Linked DNA regions of Homo sapiens: region 2 is linked to region 1. The links are contacts of gene promoters, found by promoter capture Hi-C in human tissues and cell types (Jung and others, 2019). All regions are on one chromosome and are shown on one strand. The core of a region is centred on a gene start or on the middle of the fragment in contact, and the rest is flanking DNA. Distances in the headings are between cores, read along the strand shown. Region 1 holds the start of ZBTB48 (zinc finger and BTB domain containing 48). Region 2 has its middle 7.1 kb from the start of LINC01672.

The links. The method cuts DNA at HindIII sites, captures the fragments that hold promoters and counts their contacts. A contact is called where the count stands out against the background at its distance.
Region 2: a fragment that was not itself captured here is called in contact with the fragment with the promoter of ZBTB48 in region 1 in 1 of the 25 tissues and cell types used here (spleen).

The regions. Positions count from the first base shown.
Region 1 is chr1:6,575,656-6,581,243 of GRCh38, reverse strand. It overlaps ZBTB48 (zinc finger and BTB domain containing 48), which reads right to left and starts at 1,250. Exons shown (of 11, transcript NM_005341.4): 1 at 1,108-1,250; 2 at 1-703. The coding sequence starts at 634. TAS1R1 (taste 1 receptor member 1) reads right to left here. Exons shown (of 6, transcript NM_138697.4): 4 at 4,617-4,829; 5 at 4,174-4,294; 6 at 1,489-2,591. The coding sequence ends at 1,660. LOC107984912 (a long non-coding RNA gene) reads left to right here and starts at 1,811. Exons shown (of 3, transcript XR_002958250.1): 1 at 1,811-1,897. RefSeq lists a silencer at 986-1,115 and an enhancer at 1,167-1,866. The HindIII fragment of the contact is 13,841 bases long and covers 1-5,588 here.
Region 2 is chr1:6,715,204-6,720,149 of GRCh38, reverse strand. No RefSeq gene overlaps it. Among named protein-coding and RNA genes, the nearest start is that of LINC01672, 7.1 kb to the left of the region's middle. The HindIII fragment of the contact is 3,595 bases long and covers 1-3,445 here.

The DNA of each region.
Region 1 (5,588 bases), core at 1-2,500:
CTTTGCAGTCCTCGGGTTTCTTGTCCTCAAGGGGACAAGGCTTCAAGGCCTGCTTCAGTTTCCCACAGAGGGAGGAGGGGCCCTCACTCTGAGCTGGGGAATGGAGCTGGGGCCTCTGAGGACTATGACTGCCTCTGGGCTCCTGATCCCTGGGGACTAGACCCAGAGTCCTCGAAACTTCCTCTTCTTCCAAGCCTGCCGGCTCCTTGACGTGGCTGTTCACATTCTGGGAGGCAGGGGGCCCCAGCCCACTCTGGCCACCTGCTGCCTGTCCCACTGAAGTTTTGGGCTTGAAGCTCTGGCACAGCTCTACGGCCTCTGGCACTCGCAACTCCCTGGCTGCCAGGAGCACCTGATCCCGGTTCCCTGAGGTGAGAGCGAGGTGACCAGTGTAGAAAAAGTCCAACAAGAGGCCAAAGATCTCAGCGAAGCCAGCAGGGAGGACGACACTGCCCCCTGAGCCATCCCCGTAGAGGCTCTGGAAAAAGTGACTGCAGCAGGCAAGGACACTCCAGTGTGCCTTAAACACCAGGCCCCCCACGTCCAGAGTGGCGTCGCAGTACTGGCCCTTCTCCCGCTGCTTGTTGAGCTCCTGCAGAACCCTCACACTGTGCTGGACGAAGGAGCCGTCCATGGTCTGGAGGGCAGGGAGGCAGAAGTGACACCCCGGCCAGCCTAAGCGAGGGTATGCAAGAGAAAGCTCCTGGAGTCAAGAGAGAGAAACGGGAAGTTGGCCTCTACTCAAATAATCATATTTATCAGCACGAGGGCTTGGGTCAGGGTGAGGGGTGCACGCGGAGGGCTGGAACACACTGACAGCCTCCCGGGGGCCGGGGGCCATATTGGATTGGCCAGGGGGGATGCTGGATGGGGGGCCAGGGTCGTGAAGAAGGGCCTGGTGAGAAAAATCCAAGTTTGGGGAAAGGAGACATGGGATGAGAGCGAACGGACTGGCCCGGCACAGTGAGAGGATCCCGGACGGCGGAGGGCGGCAGCCGGGGACAGGTGAGCGAAGCCCACGCCGCGCCCACAGGTCCCGAGCGGCCGAGCGGAAGGCAGCCACGGCGGCCCGCAGCCCCTCCCTCCCTCACCCCGCGCCCTCCTCACCCAGGCAGGTCCTCCCTGAGCTGGCCCCACTGGCCCCCTGCTCCGTCGCCTCCACAGCCCACGAACCTAGTGCCCGGCTATGCGTACCCCGCCGACAGTGCGGAGACTCCACCGTCTCCGCGCCGGACGTGACGTCAAAGCGTGCAGGCCAGGAGGTGCGCCTCGGAAGCGTAGAGCTTCTAGCTCCGGCCCCCGAGGGCGGGGCCCCGCAGAGAACGGCCAATGGGATGCGGGGACGACGCCTCGCCCTGTTCTTTTGGCGCTGGGCCCGCCTCCGGAGTTGCCTAGCAACGTCAATCTGGGCGGTCAGCCTTTTCCAGGCTCTGGGTTCAGACTTGAATCCGTTACACCTCACACTCTCCCACGACAGGAGACCAGATACGCATTTCACTTCTTTATTGGCAGCCCGGAGCCTGGTCTAGGCTCTCCCAGGCGCTTACACGTCCCAACCCCAGACCGCGATGCCCAAAGACCTCCCGGACACCCCCGGCCTGCTCGACCTTCGACCCTCAGGGCAGAGAAGGCTGCCAGCCGTGCCTGCTGACCCACTGGTCAGGTGGAGCCGCAGCGCCTCGTGTAGTCCTGAATGGAGGCCTGGAAGTGCTCTGTGCTGTTGAGGTCTGGGCGGCAGAGGATCACGTAGCACTTAGGCAGAAAATACCCACCGAAGCCGCTGCTCAGGCTGCTCAGCCCAGCCATCATGTTGGCCGCAGGCAGGTACTTGCCGTCGTAGACGCTGGCCGTGGTGAAGAAGGCGATCCAGGACACGAAGTTGAAGAGCAGGCTGAAGGTGACACATTTGGCCTCGTTGTAGTTCTCTGGCAAGTCCTTACCCAGGTAGCTGCAGGCAAAGGCACTGATGGAGAGGAGGCCATTGTAGAGGAAGGCCAGTATGAAGCCCAGGGAGTTGGTCTCTGTGCACTCAAGCATCACCAGATGGGGGAAGCGCTGGTATTCCCTAGCAGGCAGTGGGGTCCACACCACCAGCCAAGTTAGACAGATAAGCAGCTGGGCCGCTGAGCTGATCATCACAAACAGGCCAGCACCGTGGTTTTGGACCCAGGCGTGGTAGAATGTAGGTACCTTGGTGGAAAACTTGAAGATGATGATTAGTTGGAATGAGCGAACTGTCAGGCAGGACAGGAAGATGGTGAAACCAAGGGCAAAGAGGGCCTGGCGTAGCAAGCACGCAGGCCTTGTGGGTTCCCCAAAGAAGCCATAGAGGCTGCCACTACCTGCTGCCAGGGAGCCCAGCATAAGAAAGCACAGGCGGCCCCCTGCTGACCTCACCACAGGGGTGTCTAGGTGCCAGGCAAACAGGCCAGCAGTCCCAAGCAGCAGCAGCAGCAGCAGCGTGTTAGCTGCCAGCAGCACCCAAGAGGTGTGCTCACGCAAAGCCAAAAACACCACAGTGCGCGGGAAGCAGGTCTGGCTTCCCTCAGGTGCCCACTCTTCTTTCCCACAAGGCTGGCATCTGTAGAGGTCTGAAAGGGAAGGCCAAGAAGGTTCCTGAGAGCCAGATGAGCAGAGTAGGAATAGGAAATAGGGGCCTGCAAGATACTGGGAGAATTGTACCAGGGCAGCTAGACTATACTAGGCATAGTGGGATGGGGGTAGCCGGGAGTGGGGCCTGAGGCCACGCATTTCCTCAAAATGCCTGTGTTAATTACAGACTCTGGAGACACACAGGTCGGTTCTGTATGGCTCATGATCCCATGAGGGTTTTGCAAACCCTAGGGAGGACCTTAACCTGGTAGCTCTGCCCACATACCAGAGAGGTTACGATCTGATGGGAGCAGCCTGCTCCCAAGGGAGGGCATTGTAACCCCTCTCTCTTGCCAGCATTTCCATGAACCACTTTCCTGAGCTGCTGCTCTGTGGTTTCTCTGAGTCCTGACCCTCTGAGGACAGAAGGGAAGTATTCCTGTCCCTACAGAGATGGTGAAAGGAAAGAATGTGGCCCCTGGACACCAACTAAGGACCTGAGTCCTTAGCTACCTAATTTGCTCTCTGTTCTTGACCTTGCATTTCTGGATGGGGAATGCTGTTTTTTTCTCTGCTGCAGACACGCTAGTATCTGTATTCAGGCCAAGCTGTTCAAGGAGCTAGCTGTCTTTGGCATGGGCAACAGAAGGGACAGTAGGACAAGAGGGCACAAAGGGAACAATAGCTATATTCATTTAGAGAAAGAGGTTGAATTCAGGATACGACTGCTTTTGTAGGAGTTGTGATGACAGCTCTCTAACAGAGGACACACCTCAGTCTAAGGCTTTCAGTTGGCTAATTCTTTCTTTCTTTCTTTTTTTTTGAGACAGAGTTTTTCTCTTGTCGCCCAGGCTGGAGTGCAATGGTGCAATCTTGGCTCACTGCAACCTCCGCCTCCCGGGTTCAAGCAATTCTCCTGCCTCAGCCTCCCGAGTAGCTGGAATTACAGGCACACGCCACAACGCCCGGCTAACTTTTTTTGTATTTTTAGTAGAGATGGGGTTTCACCATGTTGGTCAGGCTGGTCTCGAACTCCTGACCTCAGGTGATCCACCCACCTCGGCCTCCCAAAGTGCTGGGATTACAGGTGTGAGCCACCGCGCCCGGCCTCCTTTCTTTTTTTGGGGGGACGAATTCTCGCTTTGTGGTCCAGGCTGGAATGCATCTTGGCTCACTGCAACCTCCGCCTCCTGGGTTCAAGTGATTCTCCTGCCTCAGCCTCCCGAGTAGCTGGGATTACAGGCACGCGCCACCACACCCAGCTAATTTTTTATATTTTTGGTAGAGATGGGGTTTCACCATGTTGGCCAGGCTGGTCTCGAACTCCCGACCTCAAGTGATCCACCCGCCTCAGCCTCCCAAAGTGCTGGGATTACAGGCATGAGCCACCGCACCCAGTGGCTGATTCTCTTGATCAGAATTCTGTCTGGTAGCAGGTGTCCTCCAACCTGAAGCTAACTGGCAGCCCAGTGACTGGGCCTTGGTTCTGGGGCAGGGCACATGGGGCCCAAGGGAGGCCCTCCCTCCACCGTGCAGCCCCCGGGAGTGCTGGGTAGCTCGCCTGCTCCATTGCCCACTCACCACTCTTGTTGAGGAAGGTCCCAGCCCCACAGGGCACACACTCAAAGCAGCAGTGATGGAAACCCGTAACCACTCGCTGGTGCCCTTCAAGACAGTCGCTGGAACACACAGACTTAGGCACCTGTAAGAAGCCAGAGGGGCCACACGTAGGGGCCCAAGTCAAAGGACAGCTCACATGTGGAACAGAAAACAGAATCTCTGTGCATCTGCCCTCAGGGCTCACTCCCAGGGCAGGGCCCCTGGTCGTGTGAACTTCCGCCCCAGGGCATCTGCACACTCGCCTACGGAGTGTCTTCCCTGCTTCCCTGGCCAGGATGGGTAGAGTGGTGGCAGCTGGACCCCTGGGGCCCCCCTCCTGCTCCCTGTACACTGTGTCAGCATCACCCCCAGGCTCTAGGTTGCCCATAAGCCAGTTACATGGTGAGTAGCCACATCCCCATTACCTGGTTGTCCTTTCCGTGCCACTGGATTTTGGTCTCATTTATGTTTAGCTGAACTGGAGACCATGTGGAGGAACCGAGGACCGTGAAGGTCCACTTGGGTCCATTCCAGTCCCAGGCAATTATGTTATAGCTACTGAGGGGATCTCTGTTGTCATTAAACGCCACAGTGTCCTTGTGTAGAAGGAAATGCACCTTGTGGATCTGCTCCAAAAGCTGAAAGAAACGCGTATCATGAAGCCACCACAGACAGCACAGACCCACATGGTCCCAGAAGCAAGGGCCTGGGGCCTTCCTGGGTTTCCGTCCTGGTGGTTTCAGCCCATCAGGAAGGTCTCGTCCCTTCCTTCTTAGGAAGCCCCTCAATCTTCCCCACCAACCTCCTGAGAGGAGGCCTCTAACAAACACTCCTTTACAGACAGTTTTAGCCCTGGATCTTATCACTTGACACTTCCAAGACACAGTGGGTGAGAGAAGGCAAGGATCAGAGAGAAAGATCTGTCTAAGAGAAGAGAGCTAATGCCTGTAATCCCAGCACTTTGGGAGGCCGAAGCAGGAGGATCACTTGATGCCAGGAGTTCGAGACCAGCCTGGCCAACATGGTGAAACCCCATCTCTACTAAAAATACAAAAATTAGGCCGGGTGCGGTGGCTCACGCCTGTAATCCCAGCACTTTGGGAGGACGAGGTGGGCGGATGACAAGGTCAGGAGATTGAGACCATCCTGGCTAACATGGTGAAACCCCGTCTCTACTCAAAATACAAAAAAAATTAGCTGGGCGTGGTGGCGGGCGCCCGTAGTCCCACCTACTTGGGAGGCTGAGGCAGGGGAATGGAGTGAACCTGGGAGGCGGAGCTCACAGTGAGCCAAGATCGCACCACTGCATTCCAGCCTGGGCAACAGAGCGAGACTCTATCTCAAAAAAAAAAAAAAGAAAAGAAAAATTATCCAGGCATGGTGGTGGGTGCCTGTAA
Region 2 (4,946 bases), core at 399-2,898, 140 kb before region 1:
TTATTACAACTGGGAAGGGGACCAGTGCTGTGGCCCCTTAACCGACATTTTTCCCAGAGGGGCAGTGATGTAGGCAGTAATGTACTTACCTCCTAACTCATAGAGACTTTATCTTAAGAGTCAGAGCTGTTGAGTGGCCGATAAAACATTCTCTACCTTCATGGGTCACAGATAACATCTACACGCCGCATATCCCAGGGAATTCTAAAATCAAGCTGGTGTTATCACACCTATGGCTAAAAGTCCTCTGAAACATCATCATATAAGTTAATCTCAAAGAGAAAACATAAATAAACCAAGGAAACATAAAAACAGTCATTGAAAGATACAAACCTGAGTCTGAATCCTGGTCTTTCTATTTACTAGCTCCGTGAGCTGGAACGAGTACTCAACCTCTTTTTTTTTTTTTTTTTTTTTTTTTTTTGAGACACGGTCTGAACTCTGCTTCCTAGGCTGGAGTGCAGTGGGGCGATCTCAGCTTACTGCAACCTCCGCCTCCTGAGCTCAAGGGATCCTCCCATCTCAGCCTCCCAAGTAGCTGAGACTACACACAAGCACCACCACGCCTGGCTAAGTTTGTATTTTTTGTAGAGACGGGGTTTTGCCATGTTTCCCAGACTTGTCTCAAACTCCTGGGCTTGAGCGATCTGTCCATCTCAGCCTCCGAAAGTGCTGGGATTACAGGCATAAGCCACTTCGCACTGTTATTCAACTTCTCTAAACCCCAGTTTCCTCAACTGTAAAATGAGGCTGTCTATAATTACATCAGATAATTGTTGAAAAGATTAAATGAGATCATTAATCAGGTAGCACAGTGCAGTATCTGGCACATTGTAAGCATTCTTTAAATCAGGGGTGTCCCGTCTTTTGGCTTCCCTGGGCCACATTGTTAGGATTGTCTTGGGCCACACATAAAATATACTAAACACTAACAATAGCTGATGTGCTTCAGCAAAAAAAAAAAAAAGGCCAGGCACCGTAATTTACAGCTGTAATCCCAGCACTTTGGGAGGCCGAGGCAGGCAGATTACCTGAGGTCAGGAGTTCAAGACCAGCCTGGCCAAGATGGTGAAACCCCATCTCTACTAAAAATACAAAAATTAGCCGGGCGTGGTGGCACATGCCTGTAGTCCCAGCTATTCAGGAGGCTAAGGCAGGAGCATCACTTGAACCCAGGAGGCAGAGATTGCAGTGAGCCAAGATCATGCCACTGCACTCCAGCCTGGGCAACAGAGTGAGATTCCGTCAAAAAAAAAGCAAAGACATCTCATAATGTTTTAAGAAAGTTTACAAATTTGTGTTGGACCACATTCAAAATCGTCCTGGGCTGCATGCAACCCACGGGCCACGGGTTGGACAAGCTTGCTTTAAATGTTAGCTTAAATATTTTTCTCTTTCAATTCATTTTATTCTAGAAGCTAGAAATCTTTGCTCACAGTGGCGCAGTAGGAAAAGCCAGTGTTGGAGAAGAGAAGTGTGTATTGAGACCGACAGCTTCATCACCTGTGGTCCTCAACCAGGGGCAATTTTGTGTGCCCAGGGGGTTTTGGCAATGTCTGGAGACATTTTTTGGCTGCCACACCCGGGGACTGGTGCTGCTAGAATCTGATGAGTAGAAGCCAGGCATGCTGCTAAATAGCCTTCAATGCATAGATCAGTTCCTACAACAAGGACTTATCCAGCCCAAAATGTCAATAGTGCTGAGATTGGGAACCCTCTCCCGGCCTCACGAGAAGCGTCTTCAGCTTTAACACTGAAGACCTGAGTCCTTGGCCAGCCACTGTATACAATCAAAGCTGTGCTTCTCTAAAGTTGAAAACTCATTTAGTAATGCCAGCTGTGAGCACTGTGAACAGGTATGGCACTAAGCAATGGTGACTCTGCTGAGTTCCAGAACTTTCTATCTCTTACTAACCAGTAGCATTTCTGCTTACAGCTTGGCTTTCCAGATGACAATAAAAATAGAAGCAAAGTATCTGGATTAAAAAGCCACCCAAAGTCAAGGGGTCAAGGCTCCATATATATATATATTTTTTAATCATAATACACATAAAACTTACCATCTTAACCATTTTTAAGTGTACAGTTCAGTAACACTAAGTACATTCACATTGTTGTGAAATCAATATCCAGAACTCTCATCTTGCAAAACTGAAACCCTATACCCATTAGACAAGAACACCTCCATTTTCCACCCCAAGGACTCTCAATATTTTCATAAGATAAAATACTCACAGAAAAACAAATTGAAACAAAACAAAACACAAACCGACCAACAAAAACCCAGAAGGTTTTTTGTTTGTTTGTTTTTTTTTTTTTGAGACAGAGTCTTGTTTTGTCACCCAGGCTGGAGTGCAATGGTGCCACCACAGCCCACTGTAGCCTCAACCTCCAGGACTCAAGCGATCGTCTCACCTCAGCCTCCCAAGTAGCTGGGACTACAGGCATGTGCCACCACACCCGGCTAATTTTTAAACATTTTTTGTAGAGATGGGGTCTCACTATGTTACTCAGGCTGGTCTCAAATTCCTGGGCTCAAGCTTCCTGAGTAGCTGGGATTACAGGTGCCCGCCACCATGGCCGGCTAATTTTCATATTTTTAGTAGAGGCGAGGTTTCACTATGTTGGCCAGGCTGGTCTCGAACTCCTGACCTCATGTATTCCGCCCACCTCGGCCTCCCAAAGTGCTGGGATTACAGGCGTGAGCCACCACGCCCAGCCACAAAATATTTTTTAAAATTATCTGGGCATGGTAGTGCACGCCTGTAGTCCCAGCTACTTGAGAGGCTGAGGTGGGAGGATTGCTTGAGCCCAGGATTTGGAGGCTGCAGTTAGCTATGATCATGCCACTGCACTCCAGCCTGGGTGACAGAGCAAGACCCAGTCACTAAAAATAAAAATTAAAAAATAAATAAATAAAAGGGGCCCTGGAGAGGTACCTCAGCCCTTCTGCCATATGAGGAAACAGAAGACAGACGTAAACCAAAAAGCCAGCCCTCACCAGACACCACATCTGCCAGCGCCATGGTCTTGGAGTTGTCCAGCCTCCAGAACTGTGAGGAATAAATGTCTGTTGTTGAAGCCACCCAATCTATAGTCTTTGGTTATGGCAGCCCAAACGGACTAAGACACGAAGCTTACCAAATGGCAGAGCCATGTGCTTCCCGAGATCAGCGATGCTGAGGAGAAGGCTGATCTACCCCAGTTCAGGAAGAGGGACTTAGGGCTTTCCTTGGCAATGTTCTGCTCCTGGGGGGTCCTTGGTACTCAAATCTGAACTCTGTTCCTCTGCCTATCAGTGAATGAAAACATCTCCTGGCTTCTCCACTTCCATCATTTTTTTGTTTCCAGCTCTTTCTCTCCTCCCCGTTTTAGCATACAGTAGTCCCCTCTTATTCACAGGGGATATGTTCCAAGATCCCCAGCGGATGCCTGAAGCCTCAGATAGTACCCATCCCTATGTATATTGTTTTTTCCTACAGACTACATGCCTATGATAAAGTTTAATTTATATATTAGGCACAGTAAGCAATTAACAATAAGTAATAATAAATAGGACAATTATAACAATGTGCCAGCATCACTACTCTTGCAAGTTGGGGCCAATGTTAAGTACTACAAGGGTTTCTTGAACACAAACACGGTGATACCATGACAGTAGCTCTGACAACCAAGATGGCTAAGTGACTAACCAGCAGGTAGAGCCTGGATGCGCTGGACAAAGGGAGGATTCACGTTGCAGACGGGATCAAGCTTACAGCGAGAGATCTCATCACGCTGCCCAGAATGGTGCACAGCTTAAAACTCATGGATTATCCCCTCTCCCTCTCCCCACGGTCTCCCTCTCCCTCTCCCTCTCCCCACGGTCTCCCTCTCCCTCTCTTTCCACGGTCTCCCTCTGATGCTGAGCCGAAGCTGGATGGTACTGCTGCCATCTCGGCTCACTGCAACCTCCCTGCCTGATTCTCCTGCCTCAGCTTGCGGAGTGCCTGTGATTGCAGGCACGCGCCGCCACGCCTGACTGGTTTTCGTATTTTTTTGGTGGTGACGGGGATTCGCTGTGTTGGCCGGGCTGGTCTCCAGCTCCTAACCGCGAGTGATCCGCCAGCCTCGGCCTCCCGAGGTGCCAGGATTGCAGACGGAGTCTCGTTCACTCAATGCTCAATGGTGCCCAGGCTGGAGTGCAGTGGCGTGATCTCGGCCCGCTACAACCTCCACCTCCCAGCAGCCTGCCTTGGCCTCCCAAAGTGCCGAGATTGCAGCCTCTGCCCGGCCCCCACCCCGTCTGGGAAGTGAGGAGCGTCTCCGCCTGGCCGCCCATTGTCTGGGATGTGAGGAGCCCCTCTGCCTGGCTGCCCAGTCTGGAAAGTGAGGAGCGTCTCTGCCCGGCGGCCATCCCATCTAGGAAGTGAGGAGCGCCTCTTCCCGGCCGCCATCACATCTGGGAAGTGAGGAGCGTCTCTGCCCGGCCGCCCATCGTCTGAGATGTGGGGAGCACCTCTGCCCTGCCGCCCCGTCCGGGATGTGAGGAGCATCTCTGCCCGGATGCCCCGTCTGAGAAGTGAGGAGTCCCTCCGCCCGGCAGCCGCCCCGTCTGAGAAGTGAGGAGCGTCTCCGCCTGGCAGCCACCTCGTCCAGGAGGGAGGTGGGGGGGGTCAGCCCCCCGCCCGGCCAGCCGCCCCGTCCGGCAGGTGAGGGGCGCCTCTGCCCGGCCGCCCCTACTGGGAACTGAGGAGCCCCTCTGCCCGGCCAGCCGCTCCGTCCGGGAGGGAGGTGAGGGGGTCAGCCCCCCACCCGGCCAGCCGCCCCGTCCGGGAGGGAGGTGGGGGGGTCAGCCCCTCGCCCGGCCAACCGCCCTGTCTGGGAGGGAGGGAGGTGGGGGGGTCAGCCCCCCGCCCGGCCAGCTGCCCTGTCCGGGAGGTGAGGGGCGCCTCTGCCCGGCCGCC